Regions from separate parts of the Homo sapiens genome. Here all the other regions are linked to region 2. Evidence: promoter capture Hi-C in 16 types of primary human blood cells and fetal thymus (Javierre and others, 2016). All regions are on one chromosome and are shown on one strand. The core of a region is centred on a gene start or on the middle of the fragment in contact, and the rest is flanking DNA. Distances in the headings are between cores, read along the strand shown. Region 1 overlaps SUDS3 (SIN3A corepressor complex component SDS3). Region 2 holds the start of TMEM233 (transmembrane protein 233). Region 3 has its middle 48 kb from the start of SUDS3.

Region 1 (2,856 bases), core at 148-2,647, 1.2 Mb after region 2:
CACCAGGTCCCTCCTGAACCGCAGTCTCTGAGACCTTCAAGGGATCCTCATGCACTACACGATGTCTTGGGGGAACCATTATCCCTAGATACCAAATCTATTAAATTATTTGAATTCTCTGAAAAGATAAGTCCTTAGATATTAAAGTGTTCAGGGCTCATACCTGTAATCCCAGCACTTTGGGAGGCTGAGGCAGGAGGATCACTTCAGCTCAGGAGTTTGAGGACAGCCTGGGCAACATAGCAAGACCTCATCTCTACTAAAAATCAAAAAAACATTAGCCAGGCATGGTAATGGAGGACTGTAGTCCCAGCTACTCGGGAGGCCAAAGTGGGAAGATCGCTTGAGCCAGGGGGATCAAGGCTCCAGTGAGCTATGATCACACCACTGCATGCCAGCCTGGGGGACAGTGAGACCCTGTCTCAAAAAAATAAAAAATGAAGTGTTCATATGGGGGGGCGGGGGCGGTTAAAGATGAAACCAAGAAGTATGTGACAACCTTAACATAAGAATTTACTTTTTAATTTCTAAAGAAAAATCAAAGGGGGGGGAAGAAATTTAAAAATATGTTTAGATATAAAATGTGCTACGAAGCAACATCAACAGGGTAGTAAAAATGTGCGTTTTTTTTTTAGGCCAATTAACCTGTTTTACAAGCTGCAACTCAGCTGCTGAAAAAAGATATTTAAATAGCCTCAAAGACTAAGCCCCAAATGTCAAACTGACTCTATTACTTTGTAACTAATGGAAATTCTGACCTGGGAATCTCTACAATTAAGTTCTTAAAGCTTTGAACCTCTACTATTAAACCGAACAAAACTAGAAATTACCACTACTGTACTATTTTCGAAAAGCAATTTCTTAAGAAGGTGGACACAAAAGTGGGGCGAGGAGGTAGGAAAATTAATTTAATTTTGTATCCTACTGAGAATCCTGGTATTAACACTTTATTTCCCCAATAAGTGAGTCCACGTTATAGCTACAGAACCTCAAGGAGTCCCAATTCTACTGGTAAATATTCACTGTTTTAAGTCTTTTGTGTCGACCGAAGGCTGAAGGGGAAAATGCTCTTGAGCAAGTGGGTGGCTTCGTTTCTGACTCACAGGCAGCCCCAGATTTAAAACAAGGAGAGAAAAACAGAAGTCCACCCGTACCATCAATTAGTTATTTTCAAATATCAGCTACTTTTTCACAGTATTTTTTGAGAGATCATTAGTCCAAATCAAAATGTGAGGCAAATTTACATAGCATGATATAGAATGCCTTAAAAGCAGTATAAGACCAAGGCAAAGGGAAGATCCTTATCTTTCAAAATGAAAGGGAGCTTGGCAAGTATTCACACCAAGATGCGATGCCTGAATCCCATTTGTTTTGCTGAAGTCATTTAAAACTCAGGAAGACATCTTCTGCCAAAAATACGGCTGCACCAAAATACTCCATACCCTCTGGAAAGAGCATAAAGCAATGTAGCTGACCTCTCAGCCACAGGCCACGTCTGCCAAAGAAAGAAAAACAAAACCTCCAAACTGATACAAAAGCCAAACATGAGCCTGGTGAGATGGGAGAGGCTGGCACTGCACCAGTGAACACCTCAGCCAGTATTCCCAGGAACACTTTTCAATTGTCATTGGGGAAGAGGGAGACCCACCTTCAACAACTGCATTATGATCTCTGACTGCCAAGGCCAAAAATGAAAAGTATACAGAATAGAGAAAAAAAACAACATTCTCAAAGTATATTTAACAAGAGAATAAGCAATTTCAATTTCACTGAAAAAGTAAAATGCATCCAGTGACATTATTTTCTAAATTTCTGCTGTTAATGTAAGAAAGATGGTGAAAATTCCTTCAAAATGCTTAGGAGTTCTAACACATCAAATCTGATCATTTTGTTTACATTAGGAAACACCAGACATTGTGGATCTCTTCTTTAAAAAAACAAGAATTTTATTTTACTGCATTTTCACCCTCAAGACATGTCTCGTAAAGTCTGAGGATTAAGCTTAGAAAGAGGAAGATTCAAAGCAACACAATTACAAAATGAACATCACTGGAAATATCACATGGCTTTAAGACTCATAGATTTGTAAAAATGTTAGTGATAAATCTCATCATTTTCAAAGATGGTTCTTATGTGTGGGCTTGATCTTTAAAGGTTATTTGGTTTTCATTATTAGAAACATTTTTCATCTCATTTTGCCCTTCTCAGTGTTAAGCTGTTAGAGCCTGCCACCTAGTGGCGATGTGTTCTGAGACATAATGTTAAGATATAACACAAACCGACCTTTCTGAAGAATGCCAAAGAACACCAACTCAGAGGGGAAGAAGTCATCAAGATCAGCCTTAGAGATAAAGCCAGCCTCCAGCATCTACTGGGCAATTAACTCACTGCAACTTAATAGGTGGAAATGATTTACTTCGGCCATGACTAGAACCCTAAGCATTTTTGACAAGTACAATGTTATCGGGTAACCAACCTAACACAATGCTGGGTTTTTTTAAGAATTCAAAATAAATAATCATTACCCCAATTTTGGAACTTTTGGTTAGATACTGAAACTCAAAGGGTCATTATATAGCCATTATAAATGATAATGAGACACCTTACAGTAACCCAGAAAAACATTCTCAATATAACCAAACAGAAAGGCAAAGCAAACCGTATGTCCACTATGCCTTAGAATGAATAGACTATGCCTGCATATGGATAAAGAATAAAAAGAAATATATCAGAATGAAAAGACCTGAGAAATGATGGCAGTATCCATTTCATATCTAGCAGAAAGCGTAATACAGAACAGAAGAAATGTTTGTTGAATGAACAAAAGTATGAGCTTTTAAGGTTCTTTCATACTGT
Region 2 (3,046 bases), core at 305-2,804:
GCTGAATCAGGGCTCTGCGTCTGTGGCCGGGGAGTTCCGTGGCCCAGCTGCAGGCGAGGTGAGCCGGTGGGGGAGGGAGCGCAACTGCAAGGGTTGTCCCGGGACAGTGCCGGTACGAACCTCACCCCGCCGCCACCCCCGGGCCAGCTGCTGCAGTCAATAAGGCGAGGGCCTAGCAGGCGCTCGTCGCCCTCCTGGTGGGGTTCGCTCGGGTGTTCCTACCAGGGTTGAAGAGGGCTAGGGAGCTGAGCTCCGGAAGGGCGGACTAGAGGCCCCAGCGGCCACTCCTAGAGAGGCGGGCAGCTCGGGAGGTCTGAGCGCAGAGGGCGGGCGGAGCCGCACGTTGCGTGGAATCCCCTAGTTCATTCCCGGGAGAGCCCCGGGCGCAGGACAGAGCGGTGGAGGGGCGCCTGGGAGCTCTGGGGGACACCAAGAGAAGAGAGGTTAGGGCCAGTGCGCAGCAAACGGGGAGGAACTACGACGCGCTGGGTAGAAAGAGTAAGAGAGGCGCACCCACTTTGCTGGTGAGGGGGGCACACGGGGAGCCTAAGAAAGGCCTAAAGAGGTAGTGGGTGTGAGCCAGCCTCGGGCGCGTTAAAAAGGGGGCGCCGGAGGGAGGCAAGGAGAGGAAGTTGGGTGTAGGAAGAAGCGAGAGGAAACTGTTGCCTGGACAGAGCGTGCCGTGCCAAAGCGCGGAAACGGGATCAAGGAGGGGGCATCAGGAATCGCCTGGGGACCCCCCGGAGAGTGGCGGAAGCGGTGCCCTTGGGCGCAGCAAAGAGAGAAGGGAGCACAGGCTGAGATAGAGACAGTCCTGGGCGCTGGAGAGCAGGAGCCCCCGGAGCGGCAGGGAAAGGAACGTAGAGCCTGCATGCTCGGGGTATGAGCTTACTGCGCTCGCTAGGGTGGCGCGCACTGGGGCTCTAGAAAAGAGGGTTGAGAAGCCCCGGGCAAGTGCCTAGGAAGGTCAGAGGAGTCAGCAAAGTCCACGGAAGAACTTCCCCGGGTTGGAGAGGAAACGCACCCTGGGAGCTGGAAAGAAGAGGAAAGCTAGCCTGGGGGAAGCTTGATCAGGGCTCTGAGTACCACGAGGAGTGCAGAGGAGGTGCTGATGATTGCGGGGAGAGCTCTGAGAGCCCGAGAAAGGTGAGGAGGAGGTGCGAGGACAAAGAACACCTAGCGCGGGCCGGGCCGTGAGGAAGGGAGCCGCAGAGAGCGCGCGGACTCCCCTGCAGGGGCTCAAAGCCGCCCGGGTCTCTCCTCCCAGGCTGCCTCTGGCCGTGATTCACTCACCATGATGGAAAAGACCAAAGCCACGATGTTGATGGGGTACGCAGGGCAAAAACACGAGACGATGGTGAGCCACAGGTAGTTCTTGGGCATGGGCACGTCCTCCTCGGTCTTGTCATCTTCAGTGTTGGCCTCGGGACTGCTGTCCAAAGCCCTCTTGAAGTCCGGGCTAGGGGCGTACTGAGACATGGGCGAGGCCGGCGGCGCCGGGAGGGCGGAGGAGCGCACGGTCTGTGTGGTCTGGGGCTCTGGCCGCCGGCTTGTGGCGAGGCTCTGAAAAGCCAGCGGCTCGGGGCTCAAGGGAGACGTGACCTCACCCCTTCTGCGTCCTCTGCCAGCACCCGCCCGGGCTCAGGGACCCTGGCCAAGAGCCTCCCCACAAGGAGGAAGGGAGGGAGAAAAGGAGTGAGGGGAGGCGGGGAGGACAGCGGGAGCGTCAGCCTGAGGAACAGGGAACAGGCAGATGAAGGCACCCCACTCCCTGAGATCGTCGGAGGGACGCACAGACTCACACTGAGAAGTCTGGAATAAAAGGAGGCTCAGGGAAGGAGGACGCAAAGGCCCATTAAGTTCCAAATTGGCCAGCCCGTGGGCTGAAGATGACCAGCTCATTTTTAAAAGCCACTTAATTCTAATACATTTAGATGGGACAGGACCAACCCTATCCAGTTGGCAACAGACTCACTACTTCCTCTTGACTTCAACGTTTTACCTTAACTGTCTGGTGCCTGGGCATTTGATTTGTCTCCTGTGCCTCAGACCTTGAACACTGAGCCCCAGGAATTTCTCCTCCCCCCGACCCCCTCCCCCAGGTGGGGTGGGAACCAGGTGCCCAGCTTTGGCCTCAAAGCTTTCCACATTCTACTTGGGGCTCAAGAGACTGGAGTCCAGTATAGTCAGTCAGTGGGCACTGCCCGGTCCATGCCCGTCCAGGTGCCCTCCCCAGTGTGGAAACAAGGAATTCTTCTTTCCACTTTTCCACCTGCAGGACCCCTGGGGAGAAATGCAGGTAGATCAGGCTGGCCTAGGCAACCTAGATGGATGAGTGGGCTGGGAAGAAGAACAAGGTATCCACTTTGGGGACTAGTGTGAGAAAAGCAATTGTATCAGTGTCTAAGCTATTCATGAGAGGGCCGTATGGACCAGAACTGAAGCTTGAATCCAGACAGAACTAGGAAATTGTCACTTCAGGAAAGCCCCTTCATCTTGCTAAGCCCCTATTTCTCCATCTGAAAAAGGGGAAATAATAGTCCCTGCCTCATAAAGTCGTAGTGACTCTTCTATGAGATGGTACATTATCCAGGTCAATCCATGTGCTCAATAAATATTAGCTATTATTAGCATACTATTTCTCCTTATATTCTGAAACATATAGTGCATTATACAGTATCCTAAACTTGATATCCCTTGCTAATATTTCACCAAAAATCCAGGTATTCTGAGCTGCAGGACCACAAAGAAATGAAAATAATTTGATCATGCAGTGTCAAAAGCAATTGCTCACATCATCATACTTGAAACTATTAATCATCTTCTTGGCTTTCTCAGAATATAAGCTGATTGCCTGGGAGATTCTCACTTATCTCATGAGCCATACTTATTTTGTTATCTGCCTCCCTCATTGGACTGCACACTCCCCGAGAGAAGGGGTCATCTGGCTCATCTTTGTGTCAGCATCTGGCACAGTTCCTGGTACAAGGGAGGTGCTTAGTATAGCTTGCTGGGTGAACACACAAAGATGAAATAGTACATTCTC
Region 3 (2,975 bases), core at 141-2,640, 1.2 Mb after region 2:
CTCATAAGCACTGATTCTCCCCAGATGATAAAAAGAAAGAAAGACCTCCTAACAGCTTAACATAGTGGGCCCACACCAAGGCCCATCATCATGAAACTTCAAAACACTGAGAATGCTATAAGCTTCCAGAGATGTTAAGAAGTCATCTAGAAGAATCAATAGTCAGAATAATTCTGACTTCTCAAGGGCAACATTGGAAGCTAAAAGCAATAAAACAATGTCTTCAAAATCTTGAAGAAAAATGTCCAGACTAGAATTAAACCCACCAAAATAAAGGGCATTGCAGAAGAAACAACCAAATTTTAGTGGATGGAAAGTAGATTAACACAGACATGCAAACATCTGCGTCTTAAGACTGACAGTGGAGAATGCCAACAATAATGAATGAACAGCACGAGGAAATGAAATGAAAATGAAGGAACGGGTGGGGTGGTTAAAATATACTTTAAGTGCCAAGTACTTAGAAGAACAGAATGAAAGTCTTTTCAACCCTGCTTGGGAAGTGGCTGGAAATGTGCTTTAACAAAATGGGCGAGTAAAGTAGAGAAACAGGAAGACAAACAGGAAGAAACAGGAAGACAAAAAATGAAAGATTCAAACCCAAAGAAGGGATAAGGGAGCTCTAGCATGGTGATGCAGGAACTCCAGAGTGACAGCTGTGTGCCACGCCAGGAGGAACCAGTCCAGTGCAGAGCAAATTGGGGTCCTCAAGAAGGAAGATTTTTCAAGGTAACAAAATTGCTGGAATTCCTGGTGCATCAGAATGCCTTAGGGGGAGAATTTGGGCACTTGGTGAAGAGTTTAAGGTCGAATTAGTAATAAGTACACAGAAAACTAAGCAAACAACAAAAAGAAAAAAAAAGACAGTTATTAACTCCCGGGGGGAAAAGCTGTCAAGGAAAGATAAAGCAATCATAGTGTACAACACGGCTCAGCTGCAACTAGCATTTACATAGTCATAATAACATAAACGTTGAATACTGACCTAACGAAAATCCTGAAATAACTACATTGGGAGAGCGAAGGATGACCCCACAGTGGGAATTTAGTAGATAACGCCTGGAACTGAAATATCTAGCTTTAATAATAAGCAGCCTATTTAGAAATAGATACTAGATACCAAAATAATCAGCTAAAAGAGATAAAATAATCAGCCAAAAGAGATAAAATAATCTCTGGGAGGGGGAAATAAAGCAGAGGGCAGGGGGCTACTCTGTTTTGTGGCCAACTCTGTGGAACCTTTTGACTTTCTGGATAGCCTTCACATTACTATGATTTTAGAAAGATATTGATGTCCTGCAACGAGAAGTAGGAGGCAGTAGCTAACCATTCCTCCATTCAGCAAGCACTCAATGGGCACCTACAATGTACTCGTGTTGGGAGATTTGGAGGAAAAACAAAAAGCCCCAGTCCCTGTCCTCTCTGGCTCACAATCCAGTGGCTATCTCCACACACCCAGAGAGGCAGCAATTCAAACTCTTCTCTAGTGAGAAGGTTAACAAGATGAAAACAGATGCCTGGAGATCTGCTTGTCTTGAACTAGTCAAGCCACTTGACTAGTGGCTTCTGTTGGCCTTCCCTGGATGGCGTACCCTTGGAAGTTCACCATGGGCTTATCCTTGAGGCACAATGGGACCTGCCTGAGCAGGTGGGGCAGGAGTTGGGGTAGGCAATCCCTGTGATAACCATGCCCACCCGGCACGGGCATGGTGTGGGCTACATTTTCTGTTTGTTTGGTTTTTGGGATGGGGTCTGTGTCTCCCAAGCTGGAGTGCAGTGGTGCGATCATGGCTCACTGCAGCCTCAACCTCCCGGGCTCAAGCAATCCTCCCACCCCAGGCCCTGAGTGGCTAGGACTACAGGCACACACCACCACGCCTGGATAATTTTCGTAGATACAGCATTTCATCATGTTGCCCAGCCTAGTCTCAAACTGCTGGGCTCAAGTGATCCTCCCACCTCAGCCTCTCAAAGTGCTGGGGTTACAGGTGTGAGCCACCACACCTGGCCAGGTTATATTTTCTAAAGCACTCAAGTGACCTACAGAGTTTGTTTGAAGCACAATAGTTATTATATTGTTTTGCTTGCATGACTTCATTTAATCTTGACAATAAACCTTGCTATTATTAGTCCCACTTTCTAGATGAGGAAACTGGAGCCCCGAGAGGTTATGTGATTTGCCTAAGTTCACACAGCTTGTAAGCAGCAGAGTTCAATCCAGATTCAAACCTGTCTCAAGCCCCTGCCTCTGAGTCTCACAACTGGATTTCTTTTCTCCATTTAGATTGTTGAATTGAGAGTTACAAGAACTGAGTTCTAGCTTGGCGTCTGTTTCCAGAAGCGAAAAATGGAAGGGGTTGGCTAAGATGACAACTAAGGGTCCTTTATGCTTTGGCCATCTACATTAGGAAGACAGAAGCCAAAGGGGAAAGGAAATGTGTGAACGTGGTGCAGAGGTGAACACTTCCCCTCCTCAAGCCTCATTTTCATCATCTGTAAAATGGAAATCACGAAGACACACATCACAGGGCAGTTTAGTATATTAAATACAATAATGTATAAAAAGTACTTAGCCCTCACCCAAACACATCATAAGTGCTCAATAAATTTGAGCCCTTATTCCTTCCTAATATGCCCGCAGGGCTCCACCAAGCTTGAATTCCCATAAGCTTTCACTTCTGGGAAGGTCAAAGAACCATGTTTGAGAGAAGAGGACTGATCAAAGTAGGAGAAAGGGAATCAGGTAAAATTACTGTCTAACAGGAATGTGTGCTGTTGCCCTTTATTGGTTTTACATATGAGTTAGCTTATTAATACTTTCAGGAGCATGTTAGTGTGAAATTGGAAAGCATCACTGCAGGTCAGCCATGAGCCACTGCACTGGTGACAGAAAGGGGAAGAAGAGCAAGCAGGGCAGGCACAGTGGGGAGAAGAAAGGAGAGAGGCAGAAAGGAAAGGAAGGCGAGTCCTCGATG

Evidence for each region. The method cuts DNA at HindIII sites, captures the fragments that hold promoters and counts their contacts. A CHiCAGO score of 5 or more calls a contact.
Region 1: a contact is called between a fragment that was not itself captured here and the fragment with the promoter of TMEM233 in region 2, in 2 of 17 cell types (endothelial precursors and erythroblasts). The highest score is 5.4, in endothelial precursors.
Region 3: a fragment that was not itself captured here is called in contact with the fragment with the promoter of TMEM233 in region 2 in 1 of 17 cell types (endothelial precursors); the score reaches 6.3 in endothelial precursors.

Annotation. Positions count from the first base shown.
Region 1 is chr12:118,404,485-118,407,340 of GRCh38, reverse strand. The region is part of intron 10 of SUDS3 (SIN3A corepressor complex component SDS3); the gene reads right to left. Among named protein-coding and RNA genes, the nearest start is that of SUDS3, 29 kb to the right of the region's middle. RefSeq lists an enhancer at 2,294-2,343. The HindIII fragment of the contact is 1,213 bases long and covers 791-2,003 here.
Region 2 is chr12:119,592,282-119,595,327 of GRCh38, reverse strand. It overlaps TMEM233 (transmembrane protein 233), which reads right to left and starts at 1,554. Exons shown (of 3, transcript NM_001136534.3): 1 at 1,294-1,554. The coding sequence starts at 1,479. The region is part of intron 1 of PRKAB1-AS1 (PRKAB1, TMEM233 and CCDC60 antisense RNA 1); the gene reads left to right. RefSeq lists an enhancer at 993-1,566. The HindIII fragment of the contact is 1,075 bases long and covers 1,068-2,142 here.
Region 3 is chr12:118,423,004-118,425,978 of GRCh38, reverse strand. No RefSeq gene overlaps it. Among named protein-coding and RNA genes, the nearest start is that of SUDS3, 48 kb to the right of the region's middle. The HindIII fragment of the contact is 2,531 bases long and covers 125-2,655 here.